Regions from separate parts of the Homo sapiens genome. Here all the other regions are linked to region 3. Evidence: promoter capture Hi-C in 16 types of primary human blood cells and fetal thymus (Javierre and others, 2016). All regions are on one chromosome and are shown on one strand. The core of a region is centred on a gene start or on the middle of the fragment in contact, and the rest is flanking DNA. Distances in the headings are between cores, read along the strand shown. Region 1 overlaps TCF7L1 (transcription factor 7 like 1). Region 2 overlaps DNAH6 (dynein axonemal heavy chain 6). Region 3 holds the start of TMSB10 (thymosin beta 10). Region 4 overlaps DNAH6 (dynein axonemal heavy chain 6).

Region 1 (2,776 bases), core at 1-2,500, 380 kb before region 3:
GGAACTAGTGGAAAGGCGATTCTTGTTACAAAGTGGGAAGAAACATGGCTGAGTTATTTTGTAGTGTTTTGTGAAAGGTAGAACTTGTGAGTGATGAATTTAGATATTCAGCACAAGTTATTTCTAAGCAAAGTGCTGAAGGTGTGGCTTGGTTTCTCCTTACTGCTTGTAGTAAAATGTGAGAAGTAAATTATTGTTAAGCAAAAAGGAACCAGAACTTGAAAATTTAGAAAATTCTCAGCCTAGCCTCATTGCAAAAAAATGAGAAGGTGTGTTCCTAAGAGAACACCAATGGTGTGGCTGGACGATCAGATAATGAGACTGGGGCTGTGAAGCATGGATTCAACCAACCACCTCAGCAGAAATACTGCCCTTTTGGATTAAAATGGACAAAGACAGGACAAAGGGAAGGAAGGCTGTCAGACTTCTACAGAATGGGCTACAGTGATGTGGCTGCAAACATTTGTTATCTTTCAAGAAGAGGGAAGAATGACCCCAAGAGGGGATTCACAAGGTGTGGCTGCCGCCCAGGGCCTCAGGGGCACAGCTCCCAGCTCCCATCCTGGTGGGCTGGAAGGACAGAGAATGAATGGTGCCAAAGAGGATTATTCTTGAGCATTAAATTGAATAGAACTCTGCTAGCAGACTGCCTTTAGACTTAGACTGTAACTCTTCCCTGCCAGTCTCCAGCCTGCCAGCTTACCCTCTTAAATCTTTCTCCCTCTACACATTCACACTCACTCACTCACTCGCTATATATACATACATCACCTTGGTTCTGTTTCCCTGGAGAACCCTAACACAGAACTGTCCTATATCTTTTTTATTTTTACTTTTCATACCAAGCTAAGCTGACTAGGAGAACTGTTCTATATCTTGATTGTGGTGAACTCATGTATGACTGCAAAAGTTTGTCAAAACTCACAGAACTATATACTCATGTGAATTTCACTATATGTAAATTATATCTTAAAAATGGGGAGGTTGGGCATGATGGCTCATGCCTGTAATCCTAGCACTTTTGGAGACTGAGGCAGGCGGATCACTTGAGGCCAGGAGTGCAAGGCCAGCCTGAGCAACATAGCGAGACCCTAACTCTAATTTTTTTTAAATGGGGGGAAAAGCGCACACGTATACAAATATATGCACAGGATGCTAACTTTAGCTTAAAAACTGGGGCCGGGTGAGGTGGCTCACGCCTGTAATTCCAGCACTTTGGGAGGCCAAGGCGGGCAGATCACCTGAGGTCAGGAGTTCAAGACCAGCCTGGCTATCATGGTGAAACCCCGTCTCTACTAAAAAAATACAAAAATTAGCCATGTGTGGTGGCAGGCGCCTGTAATCCCAGCTACTTGGGAGGCTGAGGCAGGGAGAATTGCTTGAACCCGGAGTGTGAAAGTTGCAGTGAGCTGAGATCGCACCACTGCACTCCAGCCTGGGCGACATAGTGAGACTCTGTCTCGGAGAAAAAAAAAAAAAAACTGGGCTAGGCGTGGTGGCTCGTGCCTGTAATCCCAGCACTTTGGGAGGCTGAGGTGCGCGGATCCCGTGAGGCCAGGAGTGCCAGACCAGCCTAGCCAACATGATGAAACCCCGTCTCTACTAAAAATACAAAAAAATTAGCTGGGCGTGGTGGTGAATACCTGTAATCCCAGGTACTCGGGAGGCTGAGGCAGGAGAATCTCTTGAACCCAGGAGGTGGAGGTTGCAGTGAGCTGAGTTTGTGCCACTGCACTCCAGCCTGGGCAACAGTGAGACTGTCTCAAAACAAACAAACAACTGGAAACCATCTATGTCTATCTATTTTTAAAATGTTTAAATAAAAGGCAACCAGGAAGAGAGAGGTGGCAAAGTTTCAAAGGTGGTAGATATTTCTGCCTTTGCACTAACCTCATCTAGATTTTTCTCTACACCTTCCTCTATCCCTCAACTCCTTACTCTCTAGGTCCCTTTTCTGATTCTGGATGCTCAGCCTAACAGCTAAAATTTGCATTAAAAAACCCCTGAATATCTGACCATTTTCCAAAAAGCTGGATTAAGTCACTCTAAAGTTTTGGAGAACTGCAACCATTTCCAAGTTATCTGGATTATTTGTCTCCTGGTCTCTGGGTCTCTGGCCCCATTTGCCTGTAACTCAGCAGAATTTATTAGGCATCTACCTGGACAGGAAGCATTTTGGTCATCAGAGAGCAAGTTATAAGTATACACACACACACACACACACACACACACACACTCCAGACTGAAATACTATTTAACAAAATGTTTGTGGGTTGTGGGATTATAGATCTTTTTCTGTGCTTTCTGGCATTTTCCCAAGAGTTCTACACAGTGCATGCATTACTTTTACGGTTTCAAAAAAAGATTTTTTAAAATTAAAAAACAGTTCTGAATGAAAAAAGGGGTTGGATCTTGGGTAAATGTGGGTAGAGAAGGGGTATTAACTTTTTACCAGACCATTCATTCTTCCATTCATTCAACAAATGCTCCCGAGCATTACAACAGGCGCTCAGATGCGATTCCTGTCTTCGTGTTGCTTATATTCTAGAGGGGCATATATGTGTTTTGCGTGGCTGGACACAGTGCTCCTGGGGGACACTGGAGGGAAGACAGGCACCTGGCATGTGGGGCCATGGTGAGGGGTCTGGATAATAATCTGCAAGTGATGAAATTACACTGATCGGATCTTACAAATAGTTGCTTATACAATGTTACTGTTAGTCTTTAGAGCTTGTTTTGAAGGTGTAAAGTCCAAATTATTAAGCACTTAACTTCA
Region 2 (2,776 bases), core at 202-2,701, 370 kb after region 3:
AGTATTTTCATAATACCTCATTTGCCTTGAATATTTAATCCCCAGAGAGTTCTTTTTTCTTCTTCCTAAACAAAGTTCTTCCAGACATTTCACCTCAGAGACTCTAAATAGTGCTGTTGTCTAGCAGTTACTAATGTCTACAGATTCATCAATATGCAATTAAATATTGCAATAAAACTTTAATAATGTCTTGGATTATGATCATCTATATCATCTAATATGTTGGTCTACTAATGATGTTACTGATTTTTTTTTTTTTTTGCTTTTCTGGTTCCAAGTAGTATAAAAAACTTCCACACAAGCTGGTAAAATCACAATTCTACAATAGTGATTCATTCTGATGTTAGATATTATGTGTTCTTGCACTCCTAGCTTCTTGAGCTTCTTTATCTGATACTAATCTAAAAACAGAAATTTGTTTCATATTTTGTTCTTGTAATGCTTTTAAAAGCTCAAACCCTTTTCTGGGTGGGGTGGATATCTCTGAAAAGGTGTTGAAATAACTTGTTTGACACCACTGGTTAATTTGATAACATTTTTATACAAATAAGATATTTAGGCAAAAGGACAGGTCTATTACTGTAGTTTACAAATCTAAGTTTGAGATAATCCTAATTATGCTGCCTAATTTCTCATCTCTTTTGACTTCTGTGTTTGCCATATAGATCTGATAGTTTTCTAGCTTTAACAGAAAATTTTCCTTATAAATGAGCAAAAAGATAAATAAATGTCAAAATTAAATCCATATTACCATGAAGTATTCAAGAGAATTGTAGACCTTAATATCAGCAAATGATTTAAAATTTTTTAAAAACTCAAGGATGTGGTAAGAAAATATAAAGTATTGGTATATAGGTTTCATTAATTTAAGAAGTAAAATTATAAAATTAAAAAAATAAACATTAATTACACTCATATAGGATCAAAAAGACCTTTGAAAATTACGAAAGCCTACAGTGCTCTTTACCAAGATAATTTTATTAGAATATGTTTTCTAATAAAGAAATGTTATTTCTAATGCTAAATCTGTTATTCTATTTGACTTAATAATCTTTCTTTAGGTTCAAACCCACAACAGTGTCTAAAAAATCATGAGAACCATTTTAAACATTACATTTCCCAAGTTGAATTTGAAAATTAAGCTTTGAAAAATTATTTTTTAAGTTTTAAAAACAATTAATTATGAAATTCAATTAAAATTCAGATTTTTCCCAGTTGGTAACATCAAAAACCAAACAAGAGGAAAAGAGGAAAGAAGGGATAGAAAAAATAATCAGAAACATCTTGTTGCTTATTTTTTTAGGAACACCTAATATTGTGTCAAAAGGAAAACACACAAAAAAAGAGCAAATGAAATTAAAAAAAAACTGAACAAGGATTTCTTTGTGTTTCTCACATACACAAAACAAAGAGTTTTGCTGATAAACTGAGTTTGTCTTAGAAACCTAAAGGAAGTGTTTACAGTAACAATCAAACTCAGTGGGATGGTTCAACAGGAAGGTGGCAGAGGCTGTGTTGTGTTCCCACTATAGAGCTGCTCTCTGGCAGCGGGGACTACACAGTCTTACCCACGGAAATATTTTCTGAATTCAGGAAGTTTGACAAGGTAACCATACAAATATTAGAAAAAGAAAATTTCACCCATGGTAAATTTCTGAGCGATTGTGTTTTTTTTTAAAAAATAAGTTTTTACCACCATAAACAACTAGGGCACACTGGGAGTCACTTGCTTGGCTGCAGTACACTCCTTGGGAAGCTTTGCCTTATAGCTGTGTTAAACATTTAGCATCTGGAACCACTGACTGGGCATTTGATACTCACTCAGACCATCAGTGTTATGTAAATTTTGTGAAGGTCTCATTGCAAATTTTAAAATAATAAATATGTCATAATTTTAAAAAATTAATAAGAAGGTTCTCTTTAGCCATCTGAATGATGGGTAGTGTGAGCCACAGATGAGGGTTCACACACAGCTAGCTCCTTTTCCCCATTGTAATTTTTAAAAAAAATTAAAAGATCTTCAATAACAACCTTAGTTTTTGGAAATGAGACCATGTAACTAGAACTTCTGTCACATAGTTCTGGACCTCTAGACAATCTATGGATCCAGAATTTCTTGATCATTTCACTGGAGTCTGCTTTTAGCACTGAATCAGATGGTAAGCCAATAAGTACATTATGCTATAAAGCTGCAAGGCTGAGTGTTTCAATTTAGAAAATGGAAGTAAACAAATTCTTATCAGCTCTTTGGTTAAATTTGGATTGAAAAGTTATCTCCTCAGGTTTTTGAGTTTAAATATGATTTTTGGATAGATATGCCCACTAATACATGATCAATTATTTTCCTCCAACTAGTAAAATCATAAGATGCTGGAAAGAGCCAAATCCGTCCTAAGGTACATTCGCCATATACACTATAATTCAGTCAGCCTAAAATTCCAATATTGTATTCTTATCTTCAAAGTATTTTGGCACCAAAGTGATAACGCTGTCTACTCAAAATATTGAACATATCTCTAAGACATGACCCTTGAGCAAGCCCCCTAAAATCATAGAAATGGTCTTTATTAGTAATATTAGTTTCACAAAATGTTCTAAATCTTACTCTTCATTTCCTGCATATTTCATGATTGAAATAAAATCTTTTACTTGTTATTTCACTGTATGACCATGGAAAAGTGCACAGTTAGTATCCTTGATTTGAGGAGATCCACAATTTTCACTCTCTGTCAATGCTAAGTCAAAAAATGAGGTTTACTGTTGGATGTGAATGTTG
Region 3 (2,766 bases), core at 215-2,714:
CCCGCCTTTGTTTTAAGCTCCCGAAGAAAGGCTTCCGGAGACTTTGTGACCTCACCCAATTTCCAACATTCCAGATTGTCTTTTCTTTCTTTAAAATCAGTGTTCCCTTCTGAGTCAGCTAGGAGGAGGCCAGAGGGAAACAGTGGGGCTTTCGAAGCTTATCAAAAGCAAACCTTGCTCTTTTGAAAAAGCATTTTCCAACGCAACCTGGGGACAAAGTGGGGTTAAATTTTACACAGATTGCTTACGAGCAAGAGTTAAGTGGCTAACAAGTCATGAAATCTTACGGAGAAGCAGGTAAAGCCAAAATTAAAAACTCCCTCCGAGTCAGCCCATTCTGCGACCCACCTCCTCCCCTTTGCGGCAGGAACTCTACTCCATCGAGGGGCTTTGCTGCAGTGGCACTGCCCACGCATACTCAACTAAAAGACTCAGACCACGCCAGCCATGCCACGAGGTGTGTTTTATTTTCATTATTCATACAAATAATTTTCTATAATATCCCGGGGCAAACCGGAGAATTTGGCAGTCCGATTGGGGGGGGGTCCCTTCAGAGACCCACAGGCCGGTGGCATCGGCGCGGAGTGCCCAGGTTCACAGTGCAGCTTGTGGCTCGTGTCCATCTTGCAGGTGGCTCTTCCTCCACATCACGACTGGGGTCTCGAAGAGGACGGGGGTAGGAAATCCTCCAGGATCTTAGGAAATTTCACTCCGCTTCTCCTGCTCAATGGCTGTGGAGAGCGGGAAGCGGGCGCTGGAGGGGAGCTGCAACCCCCACCCGCAACCGAGGTGCTTCCCGGTGTGGGCGAGGCACCCACGAGGTGTGGGGATTTAGAAGGAAGCTTGGGGCTGGGGAGAAACAAGGCGCTTTGTGAAACTGAAAGAGTGGCCGGGGCCGCCCACACCGGGGACAACGGCGGGGTGGGGGGTGGAGGAGTGGGTTTGCAAGGAAGAGCAGGGTGAGGGGCTGGGCTGGGGCGCGGGAGACCGAGGCACACTCACTCTCTTTGGTCGGCAGGGTGTTCTTCTCCTGCGTCTCCGTTTTCTTCAGCTTGGCCTTATCGAAGCTGGCGATTTCCCCCATGTCTGGTTTGTCTGCCATTTTCTTAAAACAATCCTAGTGGGCAAACCAAGGCGCTTGACCTGGGCCTGGGGGCCAGCGTCCCCTTCCGCGCTCCCCGCCGACGCCTCTCGACGTGGCACTCGCGCCAAGGCGTGCCGAGCAGCCCCAAGGCCGAGGATCTGGGCGCGTCCCGCACCCCTCTTCTCGGTCCCAGGGCGTGGTCGCCGGCCCCTGCGTCCGGTCCGAGAAGGGCGCCTGTCGCGGTTGCGGCGCGCCCGCCCGGTGCACCGGATCCGACCACACCCTGGGTGGGCCCCCCGCCCCGGCGCCGCACTCACCGTGCAGTCTCGTTCCGAGCCCGAGATCCTGGTGCTCCCACTCGCGTTGCTGCAGCAAGAAACAAAAGAGCGGCGCCCGCCCCTAGCCTTATATACGCCGCGCCCCGCCCCGCCCCTCACCCGCCGCAGCAGGGGCGGTGCTGGCACCCGAGGGGCGGGAGCAGCGCGGGCTGCTCCTCGCCCTGCCGCGCCCCCCGCTGGGCTACCAGCCCGGCTGGGCGCGGCTTCTCCCGCGCCGGGCACCCCCAGCTCGCAGTGTGCCCAGCGTGGGGGCTGTAGTCGCCGCCAGAGTGGGCGCCAGGCCCCCGGCTTTGCTTTTGCGGCTACATTTCCCCCTTTCCGGGAATCTGCTGCTCACCCCGCAGAAAGGATATGGGACCGGCGTGGGAGGGTGTGTGGTTTTGTGCGTGTGCAGATATGATGTGTAGCCGTGGGTGTGGATGTGCGGGCGTGCACGCGCACTCTGCAGCAATCCTCGCTCTAGGAGACGCCCCACCCCAGTCGCCCCCAGGCCTCTTGCTTTTGCTCCTCCAGAGTCCCCTTCCCTCCCCCACTTTTCCTCTCCTTAGGGAGGCTGAGTCCTAAGGTGGTCCTGCACTAAAAGAATTCGAGCCGAGGGTCCCGTAGTGGAGCGGGGGGCGGGGGGGTGTAGGGGGAGGGGGGAATAGGTTTCCAGCGCTCTTTGCTCAGGTTGGGGGCGGTTGCCTTCTGGTCAGTCGTCCCCTGTTCCCTGAACTGGGCGGTTCCAGCAGGATCGTTGGCGTGGCGGGTGTTCCTTAAATGCTGTTAGACGCATTGTGTGAAGGGCTGTGGTGGGAACAGGGCGTCCCGAGAAGGCTCGCAGTTTGCCTTTTCTCGTCGAGCTCCTAGAAACACTGTATCAGCGGGTGCGGTTTTCCTCCTTGAAGTTAACCTTGAGGATAATAGAGACCCACATGCCTACAAACGTTCTTGTTTTTCTTATTAACCCATTGTAGGAGTGGTATACTGCAATTATTCACATCTTTCTTAGAAAAGTTGTATTTTCAGCCTGTGCAACACCGTTAGGTAATAAGTTCCATAAATTACCAGCCCCGGAGTTAAGGCTGGTCATTCTTTTATTTGTCCTGACCTTTCCTTTTTTAAGTGTGAAGTATTACCGAGCTCTTTAAAGTGGGATTTGGTGGTGACATCCTAAATTCGGTCCTGATTTTATTTATTTACTTTTTTTGAGACAGGGTCTCACTCTGTCACCCAGGCTGGAGTGCAGTGGTGTGATCACGGCTTATGGCAGCCTGGACTTCCCCGGTTCAAGTGATTCTTCCACCTCAGCCTCCTGAGCAGTTGGGACTGCGGGCGTGCACCACCACTAGCGGCAAATCTTTT
Region 4 (2,700 bases), core at 45-2,544, 270 kb after region 3:
CCCATGTTTGGGGGGAAGCAGAGTGATAGGATCAAAATTGGCAGCAGAGAGGTTGGACAGGCTACAGACAGGGAGACCAGTAAGGAATGATCATTAGGGACATAATGAGAGCCAGAATTCAAGAGGTGTAAGTTGGGAGGAGAGGCATCTAGCAGATAAAATTAACAAGACTTGGTGATGGCTTAGATTCTGGGATTAATAGTGATGGGTCAAATCCAAGGTGAGTTCCAGGTTTCTAGTTGGGCACTAGATGAAGATGCTATCAACAGACATGAGGAATACAGGGAAGACCAGGATGGAGTAAGGTGATGTGCCACAGCCTGGAGGAGAGAATGCATGGTACAACTGGAGACCATTTCTGCTGCTGCTGAATGGTTGCTTGTGCTAGCAAACCTCTCAATTTCTGTGGTTTAGTTTACCTATTCTAAACAGTATACCCCACCCCAACTGTCTCATAGGGCACTGGCAGCTTCAGGACGAGGCTGGTTATTTGCAGATGCTCTCCTGTCTCCTCTGTCCTCATGTAGCTGCTCTCCAGTGGGCAAAGCTTCAATCCTGCCTCTACTCTCTCTGGTCCCTGTCCCCTTACTCCATATACTTTGCTTTCAGTGAATTGCTCAGCCAGATGATAATAACTTGCACAATATAGACTATGCTATCTCTGTATTTAAAGATCTTGTGTTTAATATAGGCCTCCCCAGAGTATGCGGGAACAAGAGGGAGTACAGATAAGGGAGCTTAGACTTTAGAGTCTAATAATTTTTGGTGTCTATGAAAATATTTTTTTAACTTTGAATTCTTTTCACCTATTACCTTGGGGGAAATGACATATACTTCACGTAGATTTGGTGTAAGATGAAATAAGTGTGAGCACATACCATAATGACTTACACAATTTAGTAGCTCACTATAGTCCAAGTCATGATTTCTTTTTATTTGTTCTGTAATTCGCTTTTTTGCAGAGGGCGATAATCAAAATATTTAACAACTCTTATCAGGACACCTTCCAATGAGATAGCCTCTGCCTCTGGAGCTAGAGCTGAGTCCAGAGTCCCCCGTGCTGTGCCAGGATGAACCCTTATTGTTGAATCGAGAGGACGTCTGGGGCTCTTCCGAAAGGGCCAAGGGAGTAGTGGGGGCCCTCACAGGGCTTGGAGCAGTGCTGTTTTGGTTTGTAGAGGCTGAACACCAGTGCTGCCCATTGTGACCAGATCTCCAAAGGTCAACACAGAGTGGTAGAGACTTGGTCCCAACCTTCACTGCCATCAGCTTCTGAATATGAAATCCCTTCTCTAGAGACATGCTAATAAGGGGCTAAAACAAATTTTAAATAACAGGACCACTCAGTGTCTTCATCTGGCACCATATTCCTTGGATTTTCTAGTCCAGTGAGCTCTGGAGAGCCAAGGTCCCCTTGGGCTCCCCAGGATTCCTCCCTAACATTTTTAGCATCTCCTTCCTAAAATGTAACATTCTGTGAGTTAATGACAAATTTAAGGATTGCTACCTTGAAAGTCGATTGCCCAGTGCCTTACCTTTGCCGCTTTGGCGTTCCTAATGGTAATGAGTTGCTGCGCGATGACGGACAGAACTTCTATGTCAATTCGATTAAATTCATCAAAGCAGCACCAGGCCCCTGACTGTGCCAAGCCACTGAAGAAGCGCCCCATCATCTGAAATCAAAATAAAGCAGTTCAACTTTGTATTGTGTAGTTCAGCTCCTTCAAAAATTAAATTCTGAGCTGAAATATTAAAGAAAAAAGAGGTGGTATCTGCAAATAAGCAATAGTTTTATGTGAATACTGGTCTATGTCAGAAGTAAACACTTTTCTACAAGAGGAAATATGTTTTTGAGTCTCTCTAAGTGATTTGAATCTGTTTTATTTTTAAACAAAATGACAATCTGACCAATTTTCCTTCTTGTTTATAACCTCCACTCACCTCTGCAAATACTTGACAGATTCTCAAATAGTTTAACACATGGAACATACAAACTTAAGAACTTTAAAAAAACTTGAAAAATTTTACTAATGGAAGCTTTCATTGTCTTTAGAAGGTATTCTACATGGCAGACACACACAAGGACTACTGAGCAGAAGGCATAGCTGTGCAGATTATAGTAGTGATTCTTAATTTCTTCTACAGCAGAATCCTAATGGTGGAGGAAAATAAGAATGTACCATCTAAAGTGTGGCATTTCTTTTGGGCACTTGAGATATTGGTTAAGCATGTATATAAATCTTGCATTATACCATATATCTATCTCTTTAGTAATAGAACTAGTGGTTTTAAATTTCAAGGTGGTCAACTGAACACATACTACTTCCCCCCTTCCTCCGATTCCCACAAATCACAGAAAGGCTGATAGATCTGTGTGCATATCTCTCTCCTTTTCTGTGACCACACTTATACCTGTACCTGCTTGATAAAAACATAATGGAAAGGGAAGCCAGCAGGAAGAAGGTTTTGAAAAAAAAAAAGCTGGAATATGGAAAGCATAGGGAAACAGACTGTTCAACTGAGAAGGGAGAATTGCAGCCCCAAAACAGAGGGAGAGGAGTAATGCCCATCATGAGGTCTCTAAGAAACTCCAAACCCAATATCAATATACACAAGTTGCAATTCATGCAACATGAATACATACATGCAGCAAAGCAGACACAGGCCCTAGAGAAATATTTGGAAATGAGGCAAAGATCC

What was found. Contacts are between HindIII fragments. The CHiCAGO score rates a contact against its expected background, and 5 or more counts as called.
Region 1: a contact is called between a fragment that was not itself captured here and the fragment with the promoter of TMSB10 in region 3, in 2 of 17 cell types (M0 macrophages and fetal thymus). The highest score is 8.6, in M0 macrophages.
Region 2: a fragment that was not itself captured here is called in contact with the fragment with the promoter of TMSB10 in region 3 in 1 of 17 cell types (non-activated CD4 T cells); the score reaches 7.1 in non-activated CD4 T cells.
Region 4: a fragment that was not itself captured here is called in contact with the fragment with the promoter of TMSB10 in region 3 in 6 of 17 cell types (naive CD8 T cells, non-activated CD4 T cells, total CD4 T cells and 3 more); the score reaches 8.7 in naive CD8 T cells.

The regions. Positions count from the first base shown.
Region 1 is chr2:85,288,682-85,291,457 of GRCh38, reverse strand. The region is part of intron 4 of TCF7L1 (transcription factor 7 like 1); the gene reads right to left. Among named protein-coding and RNA genes, the nearest start is that of TGOLN2, 38 kb to the left of the region's middle. RefSeq lists an enhancer at 1,008-1,508. The HindIII fragment of the contact is 5,806 bases long and covers 1-2,776 here.
Region 2 is chr2:84,533,169-84,535,944 of GRCh38, reverse strand. All of the region lies in intron 4 of DNAH6 (dynein axonemal heavy chain 6), which reads right to left. Among named protein-coding and RNA genes, the nearest start is that of DNAH6, 18 kb to the right of the region's middle. The HindIII fragment of the contact is 614 bases long and covers 1,145-1,758 here.
Region 3 is chr2:84,904,354-84,907,119 of GRCh38, reverse strand. TMSB10 (thymosin beta 10) reads right to left here and starts at 1,464. Exons shown (of 3, transcript NM_021103.4): 1 at 1,402-1,464; 2 at 1,003-1,117; 3 at 449-731. The coding sequence starts at 1,102. The coding sequence ends at 697. LOC105374836 (a long non-coding RNA gene) reads left to right here and starts at 99. Exons shown (of 2, transcript XR_940308.3): 1 at 99-457. RefSeq lists enhancers at 138-197, 2-1,201 and a silencer at 1,168-1,707. The HindIII fragment of the contact is 2,703 bases long and covers 845-2,766 here.
Region 4 is chr2:84,633,477-84,636,176 of GRCh38, reverse strand. It overlaps DNAH6 (dynein axonemal heavy chain 6), which reads right to left. Exons shown (of 77, transcript NM_001370.2): 30 at 1,536-1,673. Among named protein-coding and RNA genes, the nearest start is that of DNAH6, 120 kb to the right of the region's middle. The HindIII fragment of the contact is 1,490 bases long and covers 550-2,039 here.